3 separate regions of the Homo sapiens genome follow, and all the other regions are linked to region 1. Evidence: promoter capture Hi-C in 16 types of primary human blood cells and fetal thymus (Javierre and others, 2016). All regions are on one chromosome and are shown on one strand. The core of a region is centred on a gene start or on the middle of the fragment in contact, and the rest is flanking DNA. Distances in the headings are between cores, read along the strand shown.

What was found. Contacts are between HindIII fragments. The CHiCAGO score rates a contact against its expected background, and 5 or more counts as called.
Region 2: a contact is called between a fragment that was not itself captured here and the fragment with the promoter of FOS in region 1, in 1 of 17 cell types (monocytes). The highest score is 6.0, in monocytes.
Region 3: a contact is called between a fragment that was not itself captured here and the fragment with the promoter of FOS in region 1, in 6 of 17 cell types (monocytes, total CD8 T cells, naive CD8 T cells and 3 more). The highest score is 8.7, in monocytes.

What each region holds. Positions count from the first base shown.
Region 1 is chr14:75,277,231-75,280,783 of GRCh38, forward strand. It overlaps FOS (Fos proto-oncogene, AP-1 transcription factor subunit), which reads left to right and starts at 1,598. Exons shown (of 4, transcript NM_005252.4): 1 at 1,598-1,893; 2 at 2,647-2,898; 3 at 3,330-3,437; 4 at 3,553. The coding sequence starts at 1,753. RefSeq lists silencers at 1-271, 1,000-1,089, 1,440-1,499 and enhancers at 1,588-2,515, 1,870-1,929, 2,516-3,441, 3,468-3,553. The HindIII fragment of the contact is 6,704 bases long and covers 1-3,553 here.
Region 2 is chr14:75,337,389-75,340,941 of GRCh38, forward strand. No RefSeq gene overlaps it. Among named protein-coding and RNA genes, the nearest start is that of LINC01220, 45 kb to the left of the region's middle. The HindIII fragment of the contact is 549 bases long and covers 1,472-2,020 here.
Region 3 is chr14:75,236,592-75,240,144 of GRCh38, forward strand. No RefSeq gene overlaps it. Among named protein-coding and RNA genes, the nearest start is that of FOS, 40 kb to the right of the region's middle. RefSeq lists an enhancer at 79-1,759. The HindIII fragment of the contact is 2,964 bases long and covers 516-3,479 here.

The sequences.
Region 1 (3,553 bases), core at 348-2,847:
GTAAACAGCCGCTTCCCTGTTACTATCTATAGCAGGATCTCCTGGCTCCCGGGCGCGGCGGCTGGAGGCAGGTCTGCGGTCCGGCTCCCCGCGCGCCCCGAACTATCCGCCCGCCGGCCTCATCCTGCCTCGCCCCTCTCCAGGTGCCCACCGCGGGCCCCGACCCCCGGGCCCGAAGAGTGGAGAAGGGAAGACCGGGGCTGTGCGGGGACATGCGTCTTCGCGCCCTGGAGGTGGCCAGCGCGCTGGGGCTGAGCCCCGGCAGCGTGACCCCGGCTGTCCTACGCAGCAGGGCAGGAGATTGGGGGGCGTGGCACACTCTGGAGCACCTTGCCTCCCCAAAGCCCCGTGTTCCAGGACGTGGAGCCGCTCCTGGGGTCCCAGCAGTCGAGGTATTCCGCCCAGGCGCAGCTGGACACTGTCCTTCCAGCCCCCGTCCTCCACCCTCCAAGTCCGCGCTGGAAAATCACCCGCTGCGGGCTCCCGTAAGCACAGCTTCCTGGCGGGACCGAACCAGCCCTCAGCGCAGATTTGAGTTCCCCGCAGGAAGCACACCCCGCCTTGTCATCCCGAACTGACCACCCTGCCCACATAACCACACCTCGCACTCCCTACCCCTGGGGCCCAGCTCAGAACCGGGCAGACACCCCCTTCAAATGTCTTCGCACGTAGGTTTTGCACAGTGTTTATCTGCTGGTGTCTCAGGGATTTGACAGTTTCCTTAATATTCCCACACATGGCCGAGAAAAATAAATAAATAAATGCGCTGTCTTCTTTAAAAAAATAAATAAATAAAGTACCCAGTATCGTAAAGTAGGTTATCGTATTCTCTTATTTTGGATCCTCCACTTTCTGCTTCCAAACGCAGGAACAGTGCTAGTATTGCTCGAGCCCGAGGGCTGGAGGTTAGGGGATGAAGGTCTGCTTCCACGCTTTGCACTGAATTAGGGCTAGAATTGGGGATGGGGGTAGGGGCGCATTCCTTCGGGAGCCGAGGCTTAAGTCCTCGGGGTCCTGTACTCGATGCCGTTTCTCCTATCTCTGAGCCTCAGAACTGTCTTCAGTTTCCGTACAAGGGTAAAAAGGCGCTCTCTGCCCCATCCCCCCCGACCTCGGGAACAAGGGTCCGCATTGAACCAGGTGCGAATGTTCTCTCTCATTCTGCGCCGTTCCCGCCTCCCCTCCCCCAGCCGCGGCCCCCGCCTCCCCCCGCACTGCACCCTCGGTGTTGGCTGCAGCCCGCGAGCAGTTCCCGTCAATCCCTCCCCCCTTACACAGGATGTCCATATTAGGACATCTGCGTCAGCAGGTTTCCACGGCCTTTCCCTGTAGCCCTGGGGGGAGCCATCCCCGAAACCCCTCATCTTGGGGGGCCCACGAGACCTCTGAGACAGGAACTGCGAAATGCTCACGAGATTAGGACACGCGCCAAGGCGGGGGCAGGGAGCTGCGAGCGCTGGGGACGCAGCCGGGCGGCCGCAGAAGCGCCCAGGCCCGCGCGCCACCCCTCTGGCGCCACCGTGGTTGAGCCCGTGACGTTTACACTCATTCATAAAACGCTTGTTATAAAAGCAGTGGCTGCGGCGCCTCGTACTCCAACCGCATCTGCAGCGAGCATCTGAGAAGCCAAGACTGAGCCGGCGGCCGCGGCGCAGCGAACGAGCAGTGACCGTGCTCCTACCCAGCTCTGCTCCACAGCGCCCACCTGTCTCCGCCCCTCGGCCCCTCGCCCGGCTTTGCCTAACCGCCACGATGATGTTCTCGGGCTTCAACGCAGACTACGAGGCGTCATCCTCCCGCTGCAGCAGCGCGTCCCCGGCCGGGGATAGCCTCTCTTACTACCACTCACCCGCAGACTCCTTCTCCAGCATGGGCTCGCCTGTCAACGCGCAGGTAAGGCTGGCTTCCCGTCGCCGCGGGGCCGGGGGCTTGGGGTCGCGGAGGAGGAGACACCGGGCGGGACGCTCCAGTAGATGAGTAGGGGGCTCCCTTGTGCCTGGAGGGAGGCTGCCGTGGCCGGAGCGGTGCCGGCTCGGGGGCTCGGGACTTGCTCTGAGCGCACGCACGCTTGCCATAGTAAGAATTGGTTCCCCCTTCGGGAGGCAGGTTCGTTCTGAGCAACCTCTGGTCTGCACTCCAGGACGGATCTCTGACATTAGCTGGAGCAGACGTGTCCCAAGCACAAACTCGCTAACTAGAGCCTGGCTTCTCCGGGGAGGTGGCAGAAAGCGGCAATCCCCCCTCCCCCGGCAGCCTGGAGCACGGAGGAGGGATGAGGGAGGAGGGTGCAGCGGGCGGGTGTGTAAGGCAGTTTCATTGATAAAAAGCGAGTTCATTCTGGAGACTCCGGAGCGGCGCCTGCGTCAGCGCAGACGTCAGGGATATTTATAACAAACCCCCTTTCAAGCAAGTGATGCTGAAGGGATAACGGGAACGCAGCGGCAGGATGGAAGAGACAGGCACTGCGCTGCGGAATGCCTGGGAGGAAAAGGGGGAGACCTTTCATCCAGGATGAGGGACATTTAAGATGAAATGTCCGTGGCAGGATCGTTTCTCTTCACTGCTGCATGCGGCACTGGGAACTCGCCCCACCTGTGTCCGGAACCTGCTCGCTCACGTCGGCTTTCCCCTTCTGTTTTGTTCTAGGACTTCTGCACGGACCTGGCCGTCTCCAGTGCCAACTTCATTCCCACGGTCACTGCCATCTCGACCAGTCCGGACCTGCAGTGGCTGGTGCAGCCCGCCCTCGTCTCCTCCGTGGCCCCATCGCAGACCAGAGCCCCTCACCCTTTCGGAGTCCCCGCCCCCTCCGCTGGGGCTTACTCCAGGGCTGGCGTTGTGAAGACCATGACAGGAGGCCGAGCGCAGAGCATTGGCAGGAGGGGCAAGGTGGAACAGGTGAGGAACTCTAGCGTACTCTTCCTGGGAATGTGGGGGCTGGGTGGGAAGCAGCCCCGGAGATGCAGGAGCCCAGTACAGAGGATGAAGCCACTGATGGGGCTGGCTGCACATCCGTAACTGGGAGCCCTGGCTCCAAGCCCATTCCATCCCAACTCAGACTCTGAGTCTCACCCTAAGAAGTACTCTCATAGTTTCTTCCCTAAGTTTCTTACCGCATGCTTTCAGACTGGGCTCTTCTTTGTTCTCTTGCTGAGGATCTTATTTTAAATGCAAGTCACACCTAGTCTGCAACTGCAGGTCAGAAATGGTTTCACAGTGGGGTGCCAGGAAGCAGGGAAGCTGCAGGAGCCAGTTCTACTGGGGTGGGTGAATGGAGGTGATGGCAGACACTTTTACTGAATGTCGGTCTTTTTTTGTGATTATTCTAGTTATCTCCAGAAGAAGAAGAGAAAAGGAGAATCCGAAGGGAAAGGAATAAGATGGCTGCAGCCAAATGCCGCAACCGGAGGAGGGAGCTGACTGATACACTCCAAGCGGTAGGTACTCTGTGGGTTGCTCCTTTTTAAAACTTAAGGGGAAAGTTGGAGATTGAGCATAAGGGCCCTTGAGTAAGACTGTGTCTTATGCTTTCCTTTATCCCTCTGTATACAGG
Region 2 (3,553 bases), core at 496-2,995, 60 kb after region 1:
CTATATCATCCAATCCTTTCATTAGTTTGTTGCTTAAATTGTTCCAGCCTTGCTCGTTGGGAACTCCTGGTTCCTTTTGACATGCCCACATTAAAAAAAAAAAATGATGCATAATGGATGTACATAGTTTTGGGGCCCCCATTTTTTTTCCAATTCCTTACTTTCTGGCATTACAAGCTGCTCCAAAACTCACCTTGTGTTTTCACTGCTTTAGCCCTAGAATCAGTTATTTCTCCAAGGAGCCTGGTTCCTTTAATCAGAGAATGGTATTTAGAAACCATGTTTCTGAGTGTTGGGTGTGCTCGTTGCTACTGGGGTGTCATTGCTTCTAGGCCCTCTCAGTGAACAGTTAGGAATATTTACATATATTTATGTATATATGTATGTATGCTAACCCATGAATATGTGCATATCTATGTTTGTGTATCTGTCTATTTGTATATATACTTTTAAAAAGAGTTTGTGCCAGGCGCAGTGGCTCACACCTGCAATCCCAGCGCTTTGGGAGGCCAAGGTGGGTGGATCACCTGTGTCAGGAGTTTGAGACCGACCTGATCAACATGGTGAAACCCCGTCTCTACTAAAAACATAAAAAAATTAGCTGAGTGTGGTGGTGCATGCCTGTAGTCCCAGCTACTTGGGAGGCTGGGGAGGAGAATCACTTGAACCCAGGAGGCAGAAGTTGCAGTGAGCCAAGATCGTGCCATTGCACAGTAGCCTGGGCAACAAGAGTGAAACTCTGTCCCCAAAAAAAGAAAAAAAAAGAAAGAATTTGTATTATCTCTGACTTGAATCCAACCCTGCAGGTTTCATTCTAACCTTCTCCCTTTTCTCACTGCTGCTTTTTTCTCTGATGGTGAGAAACCTGACTCCCATTATCTATAATTTATTTACATATTTGTTCAACCCTAGTATACATGTGAAGTAGTTTCAGAATCACCAATGTAGTTCCCTATGAAAAGTAAATTTATCAACTAGAGTATAGTGTTTTTGCAGAGTTCTTTTTGCACAGTATTTTTTTAGCTTTACAGATTCCAGTCAAACACATCATTTTCCATTGTGTGTGAAGTTTGTGACAGTGAAATAAAAAAGAAAAAAACCCCATCATTTTCCAAAGTTACTTAGGTCAGCTTCTTTTTTTTCCTTCTTGATGGGCACATCTTAATATTTCCAAAGCATTTCTACATCTGGTTTCTTTTATCATATCATTGTTGGATGGGGGAAGAAGAAACCATGACATATGAAGGTTGAACTGGTTGTCTCAGGTCACATGATCAGCTGGATCATGATTAGAACTACTTTGGGCTTTGCTGGACCATACCACCTTTCCTAGAGTTGCTGTTTTCTTGGTGGGTCTGGGCTGCAAAGCCAGCTGTTGCAGAGAATGTCTGGTGAAAGGAGAAGGTGAAGTACGGCTGGGAAGCTCTGTCTTTTTTGGTCAGGCAGAATTGTCAGATGTCAGTGGGAAGGAAGCTTAGAGATCTCATGGTTCAACTCACTTTCCTTATGGATGGGGAAACTGAAGCCTAGAGAGGTGATGTACCTTGTCCAAGATGAACTAGTTGGTTAGAGCCATGGGTGGGAATAGGATTCAGAACTCTGTGCTCCCATATCTGTGCTCTTCCCACCACACTGCATGGGCTACAAGGTCAAGGGGTTGCAGGTTTGGAGAGAAAGACCCTTTGAAATTGTTTCTACAGGGCCGGGAGAATTTGCCATCATTCCCTAAATAGAGAGGTTCTTTCATACCTTAAGCATTCTGAAGTGGTCAGAGAGCTAATTAAGAAATGCCTGATGGGTCTGGAAATTTGCTTCCCACATGTTGCAACAGTAATGATCTCATCTAAAAGTGGCGACTTGAGGGATGTTGTGAATTCCAGAGCTGCCGTTTTTAAGCGTGTCATGTCCTCTCTTAATTGTCACCCTCTAGCATCTGCAAAGCTGAGGATAGTAGTGTCTATCCTGTTCAGGTCATGGAGTTATTTTAAGGCTCCTTGCTTAACTGTAAGACAGGAATCAAAGCTTTTTTTTCTTTTCTTTCTTCCTTCTAACTGCTGGTTTCCTAACCTCCAGCATAGTACATAGAACACAGTAGGAATTCAATAAATATTTATTGGATGAATGAATAAAGAATCATATGAGGTCCTTCAGTTAAAAGTACACTGTCATCTCTAAAGCACTATACAGATGTAAGGGACTGCTAATGACATTAACTAACACTCTGAATTAGGGCGAGTTGGTTACCCTCTGTGGACTTCAGTGTCCTATCTGCCATACGAGATGCTCCAGGCTCATCTTGCATTTTGGATTAAAGCTGATGATTTCTAAGGTCTCTTTCAGATCTGTAATTCTGTAATTGCAGTGATACTTATTATCAAGAGTATTTGTGAGAATTTTCAGATTGGTTTAGGATATGAAAGTATCACATGCCATCATGGACTACAGCAGAGATAACATCCTTTGCATGTGTGATTTCTAGTTGATTGGTAGTGGCTGCCTGGAATGCAATGTTGAGAAAGACTCTGAGGGTCAGCAGAATAGTGATGATTAGTGATTAGTGATGATTAGAATGATTGATTCACGATGTCTGTCAGGAACACGGAATATCAGGTAGTTGCAAGCATGCCAAATATCTGCCATCTCCAACCTAGATGCCTAAAACAGCGTTGCCCTGGAATTTCTGGCAGGAATGTTACTATTATTATTTTCTTGATTTTGCATAATAATGGAGAGAGATTGCTTGGATGAAGCCAGGGTTTCCTAGAGGTAAACAAAGAGCCCTATAGACTTGTAGTAAGACTTGCCACCGTTCTGCCTTTGATTGCCTCTCTCCTATTTTTTAATTTATCAGGCAAATAAAGATGAACATGTTCAACTGATTGATGAGAAGCACATCCAGGCCCAGGATTCTTTCTACTACTCTGGGACTCAAGCAGATACATGGCTTCTGTTCTTGAGGAAATTGAGAATGTAGAAGGATGCAAACATTCTAGACATAAACACGAACCCACTCACCCAAAAAGTACATGATGAACACCTACAGTATGCTAGGCAGGCCCAGGTAAATGGCTTGGCCCTGAAGACATAGGTGATATTTTCAGGATAAAGGTCTTCTCCCTTTCTCTTGTTTCCTTAACACTAGTTAAGTGTTAAGGAACCATTGACTGATCAGTATGTGTGGGTCCATGAGCTTTCTGAATATAACCATTATTTTCCCCAGTCTACCCAAGTGATAAGGAAATAGTAAGTTTCAGGTCTGATTCCCAGAATTCTTGATGGAAATATACAAACGAATCTCCTAAATCTCTTGTTGCACATGGGGAAAGCCAGCCAGCCGAGGAGAGACCTTCATGGGCCATTAGGTACCATCCTGTTTCTCAATGTACTTTTAAAACCCAAGGAGGCCATGAATGTGAGGATGTTCTCATTCATTCCTGCTTACCCAGATATGTGGAGAGACCTCTGCGTCTTGGTTTGGGGGTCATGTGTATTGTTCCCCCATGCCATTTCTTCATGACCGGCCAGAAATGTATCACAAATGGAGGACTGACAT
Region 3 (3,553 bases), core at 748-3,247, 40 kb before region 1:
GCAATCCTCCCACCTCAGTCTCCCAAATAGCTAGGACTATATGCACGCGCCACCATGGCCAGCTTCTAAAGTATTTACTTAAAAGGGAAGTCCAAGAACATAAACTTCCCAAAATTAATGTATAATAGTAGAATTTCAGAGGTCATAGTGTGGGATGACGGCTCTTTCCTAAAAACAAAACAAAACACAATCTTGTCTCATTCCATCTAGTTTGTACCTATTTATCTGGTCTCTGGTTCCTGGGGTCAGCCATGCTTCCTCCCTTGAAATTTGTATCATATCTGGTACAAAATGACTAACCTTTAACTGTGCATCTTTTGGGGGAAAAAATCATTCTGCCCTGTTTTCCCTCAAGCAGAAAAAGAACAAATCACCTGCTGCCTCGGCAGGACAGGATTTCTGCCAATCCCACCTGTAAGCAGCGTTCATGGCTTCCAGACAAAGTGGGGGCCCGGGGCCTGCAGAACAGTCGGCCACATTCACCAGCCTGTCTCTCCTCTGGACCTCTTGGCACAAGCTTTTACTCTCCAGACTGTGTGTGTTTGGTTGAATTGAAATAAACACAGCAGGATTTTGTTTTAGTTTGTTGTTTGTTTTGCAGAACGAGGTCTTAGAGGAAGGACTTCCCAGCCAAACTTGACCCCACACAGGCCAGAGAGAAGCGGTAGGGAGGGCGGCGAGAAGGAACTATGAAGTAAAATGGGGACTGGTGTGGGGACTGACTTCCTCCCCCAAAAACCTGGAACATTCTTCTCAAAGCCCCATGCCGCCAAACTTCCCAGCCATTCCCTTGAAATGTTCTCAGAGCAGGGCTCCACATGGCTCACATGTACACCCGTGCGTGTGTGTACCACACACACACACACACACACACACACACACACAGAGTTCTGTCTGGTAACAGATTGGGTCTGAAAAATCTGGCAGTCTGCGTGGCCGATGGCAGAGTGTCGAGCCTGTTCTCACTGTCTCCCTGGAGTCCCTGTGCAGACGCAGGTGCACGTCAGCGCCTGCTCTAATTTTATCCCTGGTTGATGGAGGAGACTAACTGAGCAGCAGGGAGGCTGCTATTTTGGGTCTCTCCATGGCTCTGGGTTATATAAAGCCTATTGCTGTGACCTGCATTGCTTTGAGGCTGTGCCTCACTGTCTTGCGTCCTCTGTCACAATATGTCATCAGTTCAGACATTCACACACACACACCCCCGGGTCTCTGGAAAATGAGAAAGGAGGTGTGTGCTGGAGGAGTGTGTGTGTGTGTGTGTGTGTGTGTGTGTGTGTGTGTGTGTGTTCCTGCCAGCTCCCTGAGGAATGAGGCCTACGTATGCTACTGGGAGGGATATTGTACGTGAAGGAGGTCTGTTCTTGAAGGAAATGGAAAGATCTTTCTGATGGAGGCACGTGAGGGTATGTGCTTTGGGCTTTAGCACAGAATGTGTTTGTAAGCTGAGGTTGTGGGTCTGCTGTTGGCATGGCAATAAGAATAACTTCTATTTCAGTAACTCTTTTCATTTGATGGAACCCAGGGGTTGCATAAATTACAAACGGCTCTGCCTTTGAACGACAGGAATTTTTCATCTGGAATTAGGAGTAGCAGCTACATGAACAAATGTGAGAGTGAGAATTTAGAGATGGGCTGATGACAGAAGATGGCATTTCCTACATCACTGAGGAAAATTTTCACCTGGAAATGTTGCCTTTCTGATTAAAAAAACAAAACAAAACAAAACTTGTTTCCTGCTATTGTGATTATCGTGTATTGTGTTAAGATATGTGTTTTCTGACCAGGCATGGTTACCCACACCTGTAATCCCAGCATGTTGGGAACCTGAGGTAGGAGAATTGCATGAGCCCAGGAGTTTGACACCAGCCTGGGCAACATAGTGAGACCCCTGTCTCTTAAAAAAAAAAAGATATGTGTTTTCTATAGTTAATCATATATGATATCTAAATTATCTTTGTATCTCCCCATATTGAGTGTGAGTATTTAAGGTATAAATTTTGATAGGTGAACATACAACAGAATCCTAATATAACACAGCTCATTATTGTATGAATTTGAAAGTACTAGGTTTCTCAAAATATAAATTATTCACAGGGAACAAGCCTAACATATCTCAGTGAGCTTATCAGACAGATATTCATCCTGTCCCCCCAATACCAGCAGGGAAGACATGTTCCGTACTTGTTGAGCTACGTGTCTCCCAGGTATAATCTCCCAGGGTATATTCTGGCTAACATGATGGAGCCCATAAGGCATCACCATGGGAATGAGGACTTGGCATGGACACCTCTTGGCTCGTGGAGACTGCCAGAATGTGAGGCCTGCGGCTGGGGCTCATCTTGCTGATTTGGGCTTCCCGTCACTGGCAGCTCCCACAGCAGGTGGCGTTCCCATAACTAGCAACTTCACTGAGCCACTATTTCTTAGCTGTTCTTTGAAAGACGTTGAAGACCCCTCTCTTCCACTGGCCAAAGCACTTCTAAGGGATTTTGGAGAGAAAAACTTGGGAGCTTTCCATGAAGAAAACAGAAGAATCTGGCAGCCGTTTCCATAGGGCTGAACAGGCACCTTAGAGAATTCCAGTGAAGAGGGCAGCTAAGGGAAGAAGGAAACAGAAACGGACTAGAATCAAAGTCAGGGCTCCTAGGGGCTGGATGGGGAAATGAAGCTAGGAATGGGGAAGGTATAGATGAATCACTGCGTCGCTTATTAATAATTAATTTAGGCAGAATCTTGCTACTCATGTCCTCCCCCCACCATGGCTGGGGGCAGGAGCTCACCATTCTGGCTCTTTAGTGGTCTGCTTGTTGCCTTCCAATGCCACTCCATCATGCTGTCTGTGTCCTTTCTAAAACACAAATCCTGTGATCCCACTGGGTAAGCCTGTTCCATGGCCCTTCATTTCTCTCTCTGGAGAAAACCTAAATGTTTTACCAGGTAGACAAGGCCCTCTGCAACCTGGGACCTGCTTATTTCTCTGGCTCAGCTCAAACTGCAATCCTCTCAACCCTTCACACCAGCCCTCTCCTCCTTCCACTCCTTGGCACATTTTTTTTTTTTTTTGGATACAATGTCTCACTCTGTCACCCAGGCTGGGATGCAGTGCGTGATCTCGACTCACTGTAGCCTCGACTTCCGGGGTTCAAGGGATCCTCCCATCCTCCCACTTTAGCTTCCCCAGTAGCTGGGACCACAGGCATGTGCCACCACGCCTGGCTAATTTTTCCACTTTTTTTTTTTTGTAGAGATGGGGTTTTGCCATATTGCCCAGGCAGGTCTTTAACTCCTGGGCTCAAGTGATCCATGCGTCTCACCCTCCCAAATTGCTGGGATTATGGGCATGAGCTACGGTATCCTGTCCTTGGCACCTTAAAGCTAAATGTGCTGAACTCTCCCATCCTCTGTGTGTTAGCATGCACCATTCCATCTGCCTAGAATGCCCTTCCTGTCACTTTTTTTCCCCTGAAAAATTCCAAAGCTTCTTTCAGGCCTCAACTCAAGCAGGATGTGTTAACTCCTCCACACCTGGATCAGGTCCCTTTCTACTCCA